Regions from separate parts of the Homo sapiens genome. Here all the other regions are linked to region 4. The links are contacts of gene promoters, found by promoter capture Hi-C in blood cells and fetal thymus (Javierre and others, 2016). All regions are on one chromosome and are shown on one strand. The core of a region is centred on a gene start or on the middle of the fragment in contact, and the rest is flanking DNA. Distances in the headings are between cores, read along the strand shown.

What was found. The method cuts DNA at HindIII sites, captures the fragments that hold promoters and counts their contacts. A CHiCAGO score of 5 or more calls a contact.
Region 1: a contact is called between a fragment that was not itself captured here and the fragment with the promoter of ZNF280D in region 4, in 1 of 17 cell types (fetal thymus). The highest score is 14.9, in fetal thymus.
Region 2: a contact is called between a fragment that was not itself captured here and the fragment with the promoter of ZNF280D in region 4, in 1 of 17 cell types (fetal thymus). The highest score is 16.8, in fetal thymus.
Region 3: a contact is called between a fragment that was not itself captured here and the fragment with the promoter of ZNF280D in region 4, in 1 of 17 cell types (fetal thymus). The highest score is 6.1, in fetal thymus.
Region 5: a contact is called between a fragment that was not itself captured here and the fragment with the promoter of ZNF280D in region 4, in 1 of 17 cell types (fetal thymus). The highest score is 5.2, in fetal thymus.

What each region holds. Positions count from the first base shown.
Region 1 is chr15:56,532,905-56,535,604 of GRCh38, forward strand. All of the region lies in intron 1 of LOC105370832 (a long non-coding RNA gene), which reads right to left. Among named protein-coding and RNA genes, the nearest start is that of MNS1, 69 kb to the left of the region's middle. The HindIII fragment of the contact is 2,042 bases long and covers 392-2,433 here.
Region 2 is chr15:56,489,167-56,491,866 of GRCh38, forward strand. It overlaps a transcript of LOC105370832 not described here. Among named protein-coding and RNA genes, the nearest start is that of MNS1, 25 kb to the left of the region's middle. RefSeq lists an enhancer at 2,025-2,319. The HindIII fragment of the contact is 1,047 bases long and covers 748-1,794 here.
Region 3 is chr15:56,890,310-56,893,009 of GRCh38, forward strand. All of the region lies in intron 2 of TCF12-DT (TCF12 divergent transcript), which reads right to left. Among named protein-coding and RNA genes, the nearest start is that of LINC03065, 4.6 kb to the left of the region's middle. RefSeq lists an enhancer at 1,542-2,101. The HindIII fragment of the contact is 465 bases long and covers 1,160-1,624 here.
Region 4 is chr15:56,732,167-56,734,866 of GRCh38, forward strand. ZNF280D (zinc finger protein 280D) reads right to left here and starts at 1,343. Exons shown (of 22, transcript NM_017661.4): 1 at 1,292-1,343. RefSeq lists a silencer at 1,093-1,362. The HindIII fragment of the contact is 3,680 bases long and covers 1-2,154 here.
Region 5 is chr15:56,942,979-56,945,678 of GRCh38, forward strand. The region is part of intron 3 of TCF12 (transcription factor 12); the gene reads left to right. Among named protein-coding and RNA genes, the nearest start is that of TCF12, 26 kb to the left of the region's middle. The HindIII fragment of the contact is 4,869 bases long and covers 1-2,700 here.

The sequences.
Region 1 (2,700 bases), core at 163-2,662, 200 kb before region 4:
GATCTTACAAGACAAAACCGGACAAACCAAGGAAACTTGGTAATTTTCTGTGCTGCAGAGCAGCCACCTGGCAAATATCACATTGCAACCACCAACCCTTGGCAGAGGTTGGAACAGCAGCTATAATTATAAAGAGCAGGGAGGAGACTCTAAAAATCTCTTCTGAGTGGCAAAAATTCTGAAAATCAAGATAATTACAACATTAGCTCATCCTGATTTGCTTGGCTATTTATAGATGAGAAGAAGCTGATGCACTGAGAGCTGTTTCTTTTTTTTTTTTCTTTTCTATTTGCATTAAATCCTGTGTGGCTCCTCTCTGAAATGTGTGCATATGCTGAGTCCATGTGAGATGCCACCACTGGCACTTGTCATAAGAATTAAATCCCTCTCAAGCTTGTTTACAGCTCAGCACTTGTCATACTGCTCCCTTGAGCTTCATGGCTGGTTGGGTTCTTTTTTACCCCAGCTCTGCGGAAGATTTAATTTCTTTTTTGTTTATGTGTGTACTTACCCTTGCAGGTGCAGGATAGAAAAAATTGCTGTGCCCAGATGTTTTGAAGCTGCAGTAGCATATATACAGCTCAGATTAAATAGAAAAATTGCATAAGATAAAGCAGGCACTTCGAGTACAGTATTCTACAGGGTATTTGATAAACCTATCATGTTTTCTTGACAATAAGACTCTTGAATATAACTTTAGAAACAGAGGAATGTTTTAAGGCATCACCAGCTCAACTCATTTGTAGATGATTTTACAATGAGATTTGTCATTTTTGAGCAGGGCCTATTACATTTACCCCATTTTCAACTTAGAAAATATCTTCCCAGAACAGAACAGTCTGGGAATTGGGTGGAAACAACACCTAGCAAACTGTCTCAGCTCATTACTGGATTAGTTAGACCTCAGGGATCTGAGGCCAGATTTTGTCTTAGTTTTGGAACACAGCAAACATAACCCAAGCACAAACAACCCTCTTGCTACTCGTTGAGCTCTGTGCTAATATGCAAAAGCCCTGCCTGAGTCACAGATGGAAAATGCTTCTACACACCCTCAGTTTGGATTTTCATTTACCCAATGCAATGGGTTAACCTGTTTTGCACACAGCAACTGTCAAATAAGACAAGGAGTTCAGCTCAGGAGAAGAGAATAATGCTCAAAATTCTTGACTCCCCTTCAACAGCCTCCAACAATTGTTTCCCAGCACTGCATGGAGGCAGCTCACCACCTTTGGCAAAGCCTAGACTGTGATGCTTGTCATGAAGGCCTATACAATACACCCAGCTCTGCTTTGTGACATAGTCCCCGTGAGGGCCTGGGGAGAATGTTACCATATTTAGCTTTCCCAGGAGGTGTGGAAGAGTTCCCAGCTGTCCTGCTTAAGATGTTGGTTTAAACCAAATCCTTCATCTGCCTTTGCTCATGAAGCTAAACACCCACAGTAGAACTGGGAAAAGAGTACCTTAGGCCTCAGTTTATTTGTAGAGAGGAAAAGGTTCACACAAAAAAGAGAAAAAGAGATGCTCTCCCTTTTTAATTTGAGTGCCAGTCCTGGATCCCCAGTTGGCAAAGCCTTTTATAGTCATTTCTGCCCCAGAATTCTGCATCTGCAAGATCAGAGCTTATTAGTATTATCTCTTACTCTTCCTCCCAACATTGCCACTAGAGACTGTAAAAGGTTCAGACTATACACACTGAAAGGCAAATGGCTCTTGTTTAGCTATCATAGTGCAGGGTTTTGCTTGCACTAAAAGACATATATTCCTCTAGCCATACCAATAATATTAAACACTCACTTCACCCCAAAATCCTCTAGAACCTCAGTAGAACATGGAGAATATATTAGAAATCTGTATCTCTTATAACAGACCATATGTGAGTTACTATTTAGAGTAAGTCAAGAATACAGTTATATCCCACATAACAATGTTTTGGTTCGATGCCAGACTGCATATATGATGGTGGTCCCATAAGATTATAATGGAGCTGAAAAATTCCTATTGCCTAGTGATGTTGTAGCCATGGTAACTTCTTAGTGCAACACATTAATCACACGTTTGTGGTGATGCGAGTGTAAACAAACCTACTGCACTGGCCGGTGAAAAAGAATAACACATACAATTATGTGCAGACATAATACTTGATAATAAACAACTGTGTTACTGATTTATGTGTTTACTATGCTATACTTTTTAAATTATTGTCTTAGAGTATACTCCTACTTATTAAAAAAAAAGGAACTGCAAAACAGCCTCAGGCAGGTCCTTCAGGAGGTATTCCAGAAAAAGACATGATCATAGGAGATGACGGCTCCATGAATGTTAATGTCCCTGAAGACCATAAGATGTGGAGGTGGAAGACAGTAGAACTGATCATCCTGACCCTTTGTAGGCCTAAGATAACGTATGTGTTTGTGTCTTTGTTTTTAACAAAAAAGCTTAGAAAGTGAAACATTAAATAGGAAAAAGCTTATAGAATAGGATATAAAGAAATATTGTTGTACATCTGTACAATGTGTTTGTATTTTAAGTATTACAAAATAATCAAATAGTTAAAAAAAGTTTATAAAATAAAAAAGTTACAGTAAGTTTAGGTTAATTTACTATTGAAGAAAGAAAAAAATTTAGTGTAGCCTATGTGTACAATGTTTATAAAGTCTACAGTAGTGTACAGTAGTGTCCTAGGCCTTCACATTCACTCAC
Region 2 (2,700 bases), core at 21-2,520, 240 kb before region 4:
TCACATCCAGCATCTCTGGCTGCTCCTTGTCCCGGGGCTTGGATGGCCAATGCCCCTCAAATAACACTATCTCAATTACTTATTCCAAAAGCCAGTCAACATTTATTCCACAGCTCATTGAATACATACTCAGCACATACATGTGCTAGTTATTGTTAGGTAGTGGGGATACAATGCCAAATAAGTTAGAGTTCTTGCTCTCATGAAACTGTCAATTCATTGAGGAAGAGGGTCACAAATAATCACAACAAAATAGCAATCTTGATTCTACTTCCCCAATGTTACTCTTCGTTCAACTCTTATTTCCACTCACCTAGTTTAGGCCTTGAAAATGAGTAATAATGTCCTAAGCAGCCTTCCTGTATCCAGTCTCTCCCTTCTTGCCAATCTAGTTTAAACCTTGCTGCCAAATTCCTCTTTCTGAAACACAACCCTGTTCATGTAATCTGTTAATTGAGGAAGCCTTCATTGAGCACCTACTAAGTACAAAAAAAATGCAAGGTCTTCCCTCCTATAATGTAGGGTCAATTTATGGCTCAAAAATCCCAATCATGTAATATCGATTAAGAAGTAAACTTAGCAGATATCTAGTCCCCACCAGAATCTCCTATATTAATCTCTCTATAAATGATAAATGGACAGCTGGATGGAGAATCCATTTTTTTAAAAGGAGCCAAATACATATTCAAGAAGCTGGAATTTTTACAATTTCTTCCTCCAGTCCCGCTTCCTGCTCAACAGAATACAAGCTTCTTCATTGCCATTCAAGACCTTCTGTAGGCCAGGCATGGTGGTTCACACCCATAATCTCAGTACTTTGAGAGGCCAAGGTGGGAGGATCGCTTGAGCCCAAGAGTTTGAGACCTGCCTGGACAACACAGTGAGACCTTGTCTCTACAATAAAATAAAATAAAAACTAGCTGGGCATTGTGGCATGCTCCTGTGGTCCCAGCTACTCGGGAGGCTGAGGTTGGAGGATTGCTTGAGCCCAGGAGTCAAGACTCCAGTGACCCACGATCATGGTACTGCACTCCAGCCTGGGTGACACAGCAAGACCCTGTCTCTTAAGAAACTAAAGTAAATGAGAAGCTGAGGCGGGAGAATTGCTTGAGCCCAGGAGTTTGAGAACAGCCTGGGCAACATGGTGACACTTCATCTCTGCAACAAATACAAAAATTAGCCTGTCATGGTGGTGTGCACCTGTAGTCCCAGCTACTCAGGAGGCTGAGGTGGAAGGGTCACCTGAGCCCAGGGAGTTTGAGGCTGCAGTGAGCCATGATCACACCACTGCACTCCAGCCTGGGCAACAGAGTGAGATCTTCTCTTAAATAAAAATAAAATAAAAAGACCTTCTGTAGTTTGACCCTAAGGCACTCATGTCTTAGTTTCTGATATTCTCCCTTTACAGTACCCTCCCTGGATGTGCTTTCACACCACCACACTTTCCCCTTATTCCACATAATCAAATATTACACATCCTTCAAAGCCAAGGTCAAGGTCCACCTTCTCCATAACACCATGCTGAGTCCCTCAGCTGACTCATTACCTCCCTCACCTGAGATCCCTCAGGCTTTACTTTTACCTTCCTTAGGGGTTTCTATCTTTGATGATTGGTGCACCTGTCCTTTTTTTCATGCCTCATTGAAAGGTCCATGAGATTTGGGCTTATCTCCTGAATGTCTCCGTCTCCTCCATGGTACCCAGCATAGTGACTTGGAAGTTTCACTTGACAGACACTCGTGGAATGAACAGAGCAGTGATTCTCGGATCTGTTTCTTATTTTGTGAAAGGAGAAGCTTTCTTAACATACAAACATTTCTACTAACTCTAATATTATAATTCCTAAATTTAAAGTATTAGCTAGTATTGTATGCCTGATACTGTGTTTCCCATTTCGAAGACACAATTGTGACTTTTTGGGGGGAAAGAAAATACACAAGAAACAATTCACTTATAAACTGAATATAAAAAATGCTAGTTGTTAGCAACAGAAAATAACAAAGTTGCTCATACTGGGAGGACATACATGTAGTCAAGAGTCACCAGAGCATTAAAAGGAAGAGGTGCTAGCTGAGCTGAGCTTTGAAATCCCCATACAGTTCTTAAGTCCTGGGCATTTTAAGCCGGGAACGAAGGCTCAGTCAGGGCCACTAGAGGGAGCCAAGGCTTGCAATCTGCAGAACACGCTTTCTGGCTGAATTAGCCTTGGGTTCACAGATTCTAAAACATTTGCTTAGCAGATTGAAAAGGATCATCTTTATCACACATCTACAGGACCATTTCTAAAATGCAAGCTATGTTGAGTTTATTTTCAGTTTTTAGTAATGTTAAACCCCTTTGGAGAAGATAAATATTAAGAACTTAATGTCTGTGCATTTCATGCCATTTTCGCCAGTGAATATATCCTGAGACTTATTGGTGAGCTAATCTGAGATATTTAACAACCCCTGATGGGGTTTCTGGGGATGGAGGTAGAGAAGGACCAGGTGGGATCCTGTTCTATTCCCCTCCCACCTAATCAGACTGGCCGGGAGCTGGGCTGTCCTGGACCCACCAGTTTTCAGAGCTTGAGGTTCTCGCATCATCAGGCCGGGAGTCTAGAGGTTACTACCCACACTTTCAAATACTAAGCCTGTGGGACCAATTATGGCCACCCCCCTAGCCTTTTCAGTCAGTCCAACGCCACAGAAAGCCCTAAGC
Region 3 (2,700 bases), core at 142-2,641, 160 kb after region 4:
TTCTTTTGTCAGCCAATCACTGTAGCCAAAAGAATGAGATGCTCAGATTGGCCTGGACTGATTCACAAGCCCATCCCAGGAGTTGTGTCTATCAGTAACATATGAATGGCACAGATGATTTTTACTTAAAATAGGGGTATGGTTATCAGAAGAAGCACAGATGTGCCCTGGGTAATGGAAACAGCAGACACAAACACATCCCTGGTATTTTATTGAGGTCTCCAAACATTCTTCCCCTACATATGCCTTCAATGATATCTATGGCTACTCAATGTAACAATGTTTTTTTACCACCCAAAATGTACTCACATCTAGGTCCTACAAATAACTCCAAGTCCAGGATAGTAAGGTGATATGCATGCCTCTATATCATAAAGCAATTTGATAAAGTTCTTCATGGCCTAGTAACCTAAGGCTGTATGATAAAATTAACTAGAAAATACTTAATATATAATGACAGAAAAAAAGAACAACTGCAATGAAAATGCATATTTGGAAATATGAATAATGACAAACACAAAATGTCTCTAATTCATAGCATATGTCATATCTTGCTAGACAGGAATAGCAAGGGCTTCCTAACATGAGAGGGGAGAAAGTTCTTTGATCAACCAATCTGGCTGCCATATGTTCTATTTCTGGAGGACCTCTCATTCATTGTTCCTCCATGGCTATGTCTGTAATGGACAATGGGAGGATAATCCTTTAGGGACTACACCTCTTCAGCATTCTCCTTCCTGATCTAGTGGGAATTGAAAAATCACTTCCTATGGCAAAGATAATTAGCTTTTACCACCCAAGAGTTGTGAACCTCTTCTGTTGTATACAATTGTTGCTGGGAAGTAGCTACCTAGCCAGGGGCTACATTTCCCAGCCTCCTTGTTAACTTTGGTAAAGTCACATGACTGTCTCCATTGGAATATGAGTGAAAGTGATGTGTACCACTTCTAGCCAATTTGGTTAAGTAGTAGGTATGCCTTTGCCAGTCTCTTTTTCCCTCTTCTGGCTGCACTGAAAGGTCTCTAAGAACCTGGAGGACATTAGAGCCATAAGATAGAAGGAGTCTGGGTAGTTGAATGATTTTGTAGAAGACCACCTGCTACTTAGGGGCACTGATGTTAGACTTTACAAAAGTGAAAAATAAATATCTATTGTGTTAAGCTTAAGTAACCTAGCCTTTCTTCTCCACACTTAGGATTTCTCTCACAGTACAATTTTCTTTAATTCTTTTTTTTTTTTTTTTTTTTTTTTGAGACAAAGTCTTGTTCTTGTTGCCCAGGCTGGAGTGCAGTGGTGCTATCTCAGTTCATGCAATGTCCACCTCTCGGGTTCAAGCAATTCTCCCACCTCAGCCTCCTGAGTAGCTGGGATTTCAGGTGTGTGCCACCACACCTGGCTAATTTTTGCATTTTTAGTAGAGACAGGGTTTCACCATGTTGGCCAGGCTGGTCTTGAACTCCTGACCTCGGGTGATCCGCCTGCCTCGGCCTCCCAAAGTGCTAGGATTAGAGGCATGAGCCACTGTGCCTCGCCCAGTTTTCTTTAATTCTTAGTAAACTTCTAGTCTATTTGCATCTGGCCAATTCCATAGGGGGAGAATTCCAAAGCCAGAGGGTTTTTTTTAAGCTTCAGTCTTTGAATCTAGATTTTCATCTGAGCATTTTTGTCTTTTAGTAATAGGCCTTGGTATTCTAACTTAGAGGCCTCTATTTTGGTTTCTGCCTGATAACAATTTGAAACAATAGCCACTGGGTTTGCAAGGGGAGGGAGTGATGATGGTGTGTGAGCTGGTGGTGGAGGGAGTAGAGTGGAATAACTATTACCTTTCTCAGCAGGCAGGAATTGCTTGAAAGAGGCCTGAGTGTATTAAGACTTCTCCCTAGTGCCAATGTTATCCATTCTTGCCTTCATTAACATTAACATCCTCTTGGGGCTTTTTCAACCCTTTATGGCTCCAGATTATTGATGTTTCTGTCATCTTTTATTGCAGCCTATAAGCAAAAATGTTCACTTGTAACAAAGTGGTATCTTTTCCTCTCTGCCTTAGATAAATCAATCTTAGTCCTAAGTTTGAGCCTTTCTTAAAGGACATTACTAAAAACTAACAAGTAATAGTTGATATATTTTAGTATCCGACCTTTTAACAACAGGCCCTTTTACATTTTATCCTTGATAGGCACATGTTCTGAATCCCACTATACAACAGGTGCCAGTTTAACCTACTGCTTTGGTATCGAAGTCCCAGCCTGATACCAATGAGGCCTCATCTGAATCAGCTACTTCAACATTTCTGGATCTTTCTGTTACTAATCCCCATTCCTGGTATCAATTTATGAATTGTTAGAGCTATTTTAGTGAAAAACTAGTTATATATTTAGCTTAAGGCATAGTTTGATCCAAGGGCTTAAGCAATGTCATTAGAATTCTATTTCTTTTCATCTCTTGACTCTGTCTTGTGTGCTGGCTTCATTTTTAGGCTCCATGTGGTGGCTGCTGACAGCTCCAGTTTACATAATCCTTACTGTTAGCAATCTCAGTGGAAGAGTGCATGCTTCCTTCCCACAGGTGCCAGCAATAGTCTTCTTACATTTCACTGGCTCTGATTGGGATATGTGGCTAGAGGAATCCAGTAGCTCAGGTCTGATTCATGTCATTAATGTTTTTGAAAATGAAGTTCACTCCACCCAAAAGACATTGACT
Region 4 (2,700 bases), core at 93-2,592:
ATAATTGGCCTTGGCTCTTCCTAGTCAGTGACCTCATTAAAGTCCTCTCCCTGAGGCTCTGTTTCCTCGCCTGCAAAATGATTCCAGCAACCCAGACCACTTCAAAAGGGGCTAAGAGATACAAATCAGGGGTTATCAATGAAAGGCACAAAAGCAAGACACAATTACAACAGTATTTGTAGTGATGTTAAAACATCAGAGGCACACAGCCCTAACAATGGTATAAGCAAACCAGTGCCTTCCCTGGTTAAGTTTCTGCGTGGAGACAGCTGGAGTTGGCACAGCAGTCCCCCAAAGCAGGACACCTTACAGATGCTAAGAGGCAGCTTTTGTGCTTTAAAACTGTCCTTCTAGCGTTCCATTTTATGTTTCATGGCACTAAAAAAGACAAATTCTGTCCAAACCTGAAAATAAAGCCAAATATTTAAGATGACAGATTTTTTTTTTTTTAACAAATCTTCGCAAACAAAGGCCTTTGGCCAAAGGTCTCCCGTGCTTGCAGAAGCGGGTTCACCTTGACGTTTTTCCTCTCCAGCAGATTTCTCCTTAAAAGCGTTAAAACTTGCGATAAGTTGGGAGGAATTCCTTCCATCGCTGGAGCAGGCTAAAACCTCAGAGTGAGATCATTCTTTCCGTCTCAGTAAGTGAACCTTGCAAAGCTCAGAAAATTTTGTCTCCAACTCCACGTTTCTCCTCAGGGCCCTTCTTCTGTAGACAATAACGGGAATTCTATGGCAGAGGAGGGGAGGTCTCTTTGACAAAAATGAGGGTGCAAACGTGGAACGACCGGTCATCTGGGCAAAATGAGGGGCCCTGTGCCTGCAAATCCCGAATCCCCTTTGGTCTCCTTTCCTACGACTGAAGAGACACGGGGGTGGGCTGTGGTGTGAGGACCATGGGTCTTGGCCAAACATCGGCACAAAATGTACCAAAGGGAGTTGCCTCCAGAGAGAAAAGCCAAAACCAGGCTGGGGACAAACAGGCGCACACGCCTGGGAGAGGAGGTGGCGGAGGAGCAGAAGGCGAAGGCCTGCGCGGCCCAGGCCTGCAGCAGCCGAGGCGGCTGCCGCGTCGCGCCGGGATACCTCCTCCCCCGCCTGGGCCGACGCAAGATGGCGGTCCGGCCGCCGCCGCGCAGCCGGTCTCCTCCCCCGCGCTCTGGGCGCTCCCGACGACCCGCGCCGGCCTCAAGACCCCCAGTCCAGCGCCCCCGGAGTGAGGCGGCGCAGGCCGCGCGGGAGGGCCTCTGCCTGCTGCAGCGCAGGGCGGGCGGGGGCGGGGGGGCGCTTACCGTGAGCGGAGCGGATCGGCCTGACTGGAGCCCTGAGGAGGAGGAGAAAGAGGAGGAGGAAAAGGAGGAGCACGAAAAACTACACTGCGGCGACGGCGGCGGCTCCCATTGCGGAGCTGGCAGCCGAGCCGTGGAAAGGGGGGGGCTCTCGTGCAGCCGGCGCGCTGCCTCATGGGTAGGCTCCGGGTCAGCCTCCCCGTGTCCGAGCTCCCTGTCTTCTCGCCGACGCGGGAGGCGGGCACCGGCATGTGCGCCGCGTCGCGGGCCCTCGAAGACCCACGCGCCCCGCCACGCGCCGGTCCGGGGCGAGGGCCAGGGCCCTGCCTCCATGTGGGTGCGAGCTGCTGGCTGGTGTGGCCGGGAGGCAGCCCCAAAATCCGGACTGCTCGGAATTTGCAGGCGAGGAGCCGTGCGTTCCGGGCCCTCCGCGTGTGTAACGACCCCCAGTCCGTTGGCTTGGAAAGTGAAAAGGTCATGGGATACAGCCGCCGTTCGAAAGAAGCAAGGGGCCTGTGGGTCGAAGACTAAACCAGGAGAGAAAAAGGAATCGTCCGTTTCTTTAAATAACGAGCTGATTTTACCAAGTCTGTTTTAAATGTGTGGTTTTGCTTGCGTTCCCTGTCGAGGTCAAATACGAAGAGACGAATCTGTACATTTAGCGTTTTATTTGGGACACAGGAATTGCAAGTTCAGGTTATTTACACATACAGGGTGGTCTTCAGTATGTCAGAAGAACAAAGAGGAGTTAGGGGGTTTTATTTTTTAAAAAAAGTTATCTATTGTTTTTCTAGAAAGTTCGTTGACATTTAGTAAAGTTTTGGGTAGCTGGTTAGTTCTGACTGGTGAGGGAAGGGGCTTGGTAAAGCTTGCCCTACAGCTGCAGCAGGTTCTTTGAGAAGCTAAAACCTGAAGATAAAACCTGTTTCAGGTTACAGCAGGCGGTTTCAGCAGCCAGGCTTGCTGAGAATTCCATTCTTAGAGCAATGTTATGTGCCCTGAGGGCTTCCCCCAGCACTGGCTTCTCCATTCTTTTAGTTGGCTATGACAAGAGTGACCCAATTAGAATGATTAACTTGCACACTCTAATTCCTAACTCTGCCATCTGCATATTAACCTGTAATAGCATTTTTTAAAGTTTGACAACGAGAAGTATAAGAAATTTACAAGAAGAACACTTGCCAAGATACTGCTTGCGTAAATACTTGCTAAAGGTTGTATTCTGATCTGTAAGGAAAGTTTCCTAAACTGATTGTCTTCTCAAGAGCAATGGCATTACTGGTGCAGCTTGTGAGTGACCAAGACTTGAAATCTTGCCTGTTAGGATCCATAACAGACACCCTGTTCAATCACTGAATCTTGCTAATTCATCTTCCTATTCGAATTCAGTTTCTTCTCTCTCATCTGGCTTT
Region 5 (2,700 bases), core at 109-2,608, 210 kb after region 4:
GCAAGAACATAAGCCTAAGCTAAAAAATTTAAACAGTATGGAAGGATATTTGGTGAGAAACACAGTCATTCCTTCCTATACCTTATTCCCACTCCTTGGCAGAGGTTTTCCTCTGTTCAGTTTCTCCTGAGAGCTTTTCGTCTATATGTAAATGATGCATAGCCTCTTATTTTTTACACAATAGGGAACAAATAGTTCTGCAACTTCACCTTTTCATTTAACAAGAGGATAATAGGGGATCACTATGTGAAGGACATTATTGAGCCCATACTGATTTTAGTAGGATCTGTGATTTTCTAAAATATGTGTAATGATTTGACCTAATTATACATGATTCTACATGCATATGACTTAAGCTAAAAAAAAGAAGAGCATTAGCATTTCTTGACAATCATAAGATTTCAGTTTTACCAACTTATATAATTATTCTCCTTGTTTAGAAAACAGACAAGTCCTACTGTAATAAAAAGCCTTCAATAAAATGTTAGTTCCTTATGTATAGGCCCTTGTACAGGGCACACTTTTATATGAATTATTTAACATACTCTTCATAATAACTCTTTGAAGCTGATTCAGTTTTACTCTCATTCTTGCAGAAAAGGAAACAGGCTTCAGGAGGTTGAGTAACAAAGCTAGTAAGTAGCAGAATTAGGTTTCAAAGCTGATCCATGAAATAATGCAGCAATAGCTAGTTCAAATTGTTTAAAAGCGAGTCTCATGGACAGTGGTTTAATATCCTGTTACCAAATATCTCACTTATTTAATATAAAAATTTGGTAAAGTCATTATTACAATGTATTTGATGGTGGGATTGGTTCTAGAAAGGGAACTGATTCTTGCTTAATCCATACCCAACATTGTATTAGTGTCACCTGGGGAGCTTTTAAAAAATTATTCCTGGATCCCCAACCCCAGGCATTCCAGCGGCATGAAGCTGGTGTTGAACCTAGGAATCGTAATTTTTAACAAGCTACCTACTTAATTTTTAGGCAGCCAGTCTGGCTGCAGTTTAGAACCATTGAAGTGTGTGTCTTTTATTTCAAATTTATGAATATGAGGTCTTCATTTTCCACTTGTTTTCTTTCTGAAGATAATGAACCATTACCTAATGGAAACAAACATGAAAAACTTGAAATTTTATTTAATGTGTTCAAAACAGAAGTTTTCATTTGTTGAGCTATGTATTATATTGTGTTAAATGGATTTTATTATTTCCATAGGGCCATATTATAACAGACAGTGAATTAAACTGAAAACTTTATCTTGTCTCTTGCAGAAGCAAATACTGTGAAAATACTTTGTAAAACCACTTTGTAAAATGTATAGGTTGGAACAGAATTAAGTGATTGAGACTCTGAAGGCTCTGGAAATGGGTTGTCAGTTTTATTTTCAGCCGAGAGCAAGATAATACTTATCTAAATAAATAATTGTGGGTTAGATATGTTGTCTTGTAATTGCTTTAAACGTTGAGCCTAGATTACCAAGCTGCTAAGACAAGGGAATTAAAAAATAAGTCACTTAGTGGCCTTTATTTTGTATATACATATTTTTTGCATTTTGATAAACCTGTATAAAATTAGTAAAAAATTACTTTCCCTTCTTTAAGAGTTCTACTTGCCAGGAGCCAGAGTAGAAAGATTGGCTGGCAGTATTCCTGGCATTGTAATTTTTAGTGCACTAGATATTTTCGTAGAATATTGATTGTTCTGTGAACCTTCTTACCATGGGGACAGTGAAGTCAGCAAGTCACACTACATTAAACAAACACTGAGTAACATTAACTGCAAAATAGTATGAGAAATAGAGAAATATGATACAGACTGTGTAAAAAATGGTAAGTATAAGTGTTTGGAGGAAGGGGTTAATTCTTCCATTTGATATATTAAGAGATTCTATTTCCATATAAATTGTAATTACCTTGTCGATTTCTATTAAGCCTGCTGGGATTTGGGGAATATTGATATCTTAACAATACTGAGTCTTGCAATACATGAACATATCTCTTATCTATTTAGGTCTTCTGTAAATTTTCCTTGGTAATATTTTGCACTTTCAATTTATAGGTCTTACACTCATTTTGTTAAATTTATCCCTAAGAGTTTTTACGTTCTTTGGTTCTATTATATGTGGCATTAAAACTTTTCCAATTGTTTGTTGCTGGTATATAAAAATAGTGATTGATTTTTATATTGACTTATTGGTATGAAATTATTCACAATATTCCATTATTGTTTTATTGTGTTTAAGATATGTAGTCATGTTTCTTCTTTTCTGCCTGATACTGGAAATTGTGTCTTTTTGCTTTTTTCTTAATCCGTCTTAAGAGAGAGTTTATATTAATCCATGTATTTTCAATTTCCAGTGTTCTTCATTTCTTTGTGTATATTCAGGTATTCATCTTGTCTCATTTTCCTTCTGCCCGAAGAATTTTCTTTACATTTTTTATAGTGCAGGACTGCAGGTAATAAATTCTCTTTATTTTTGCTTATCTGAGAGGTTTTAATTTTGCCTTTGCTTTTGAAGGATATTTTTGCTAGATATAGAATTCTAGATTGACCTTTTTTTTTCCTTTTGATGATGAAATAGTGTCTTTCCATTGTATTTTGGCTTTCATTATTTTTCAAGTCTGCAATAATGATCTTTATTCTTTTCTATATAATATTTTTCCTATAGTAGCTTTTAGATTTTCTAGTTTTCACT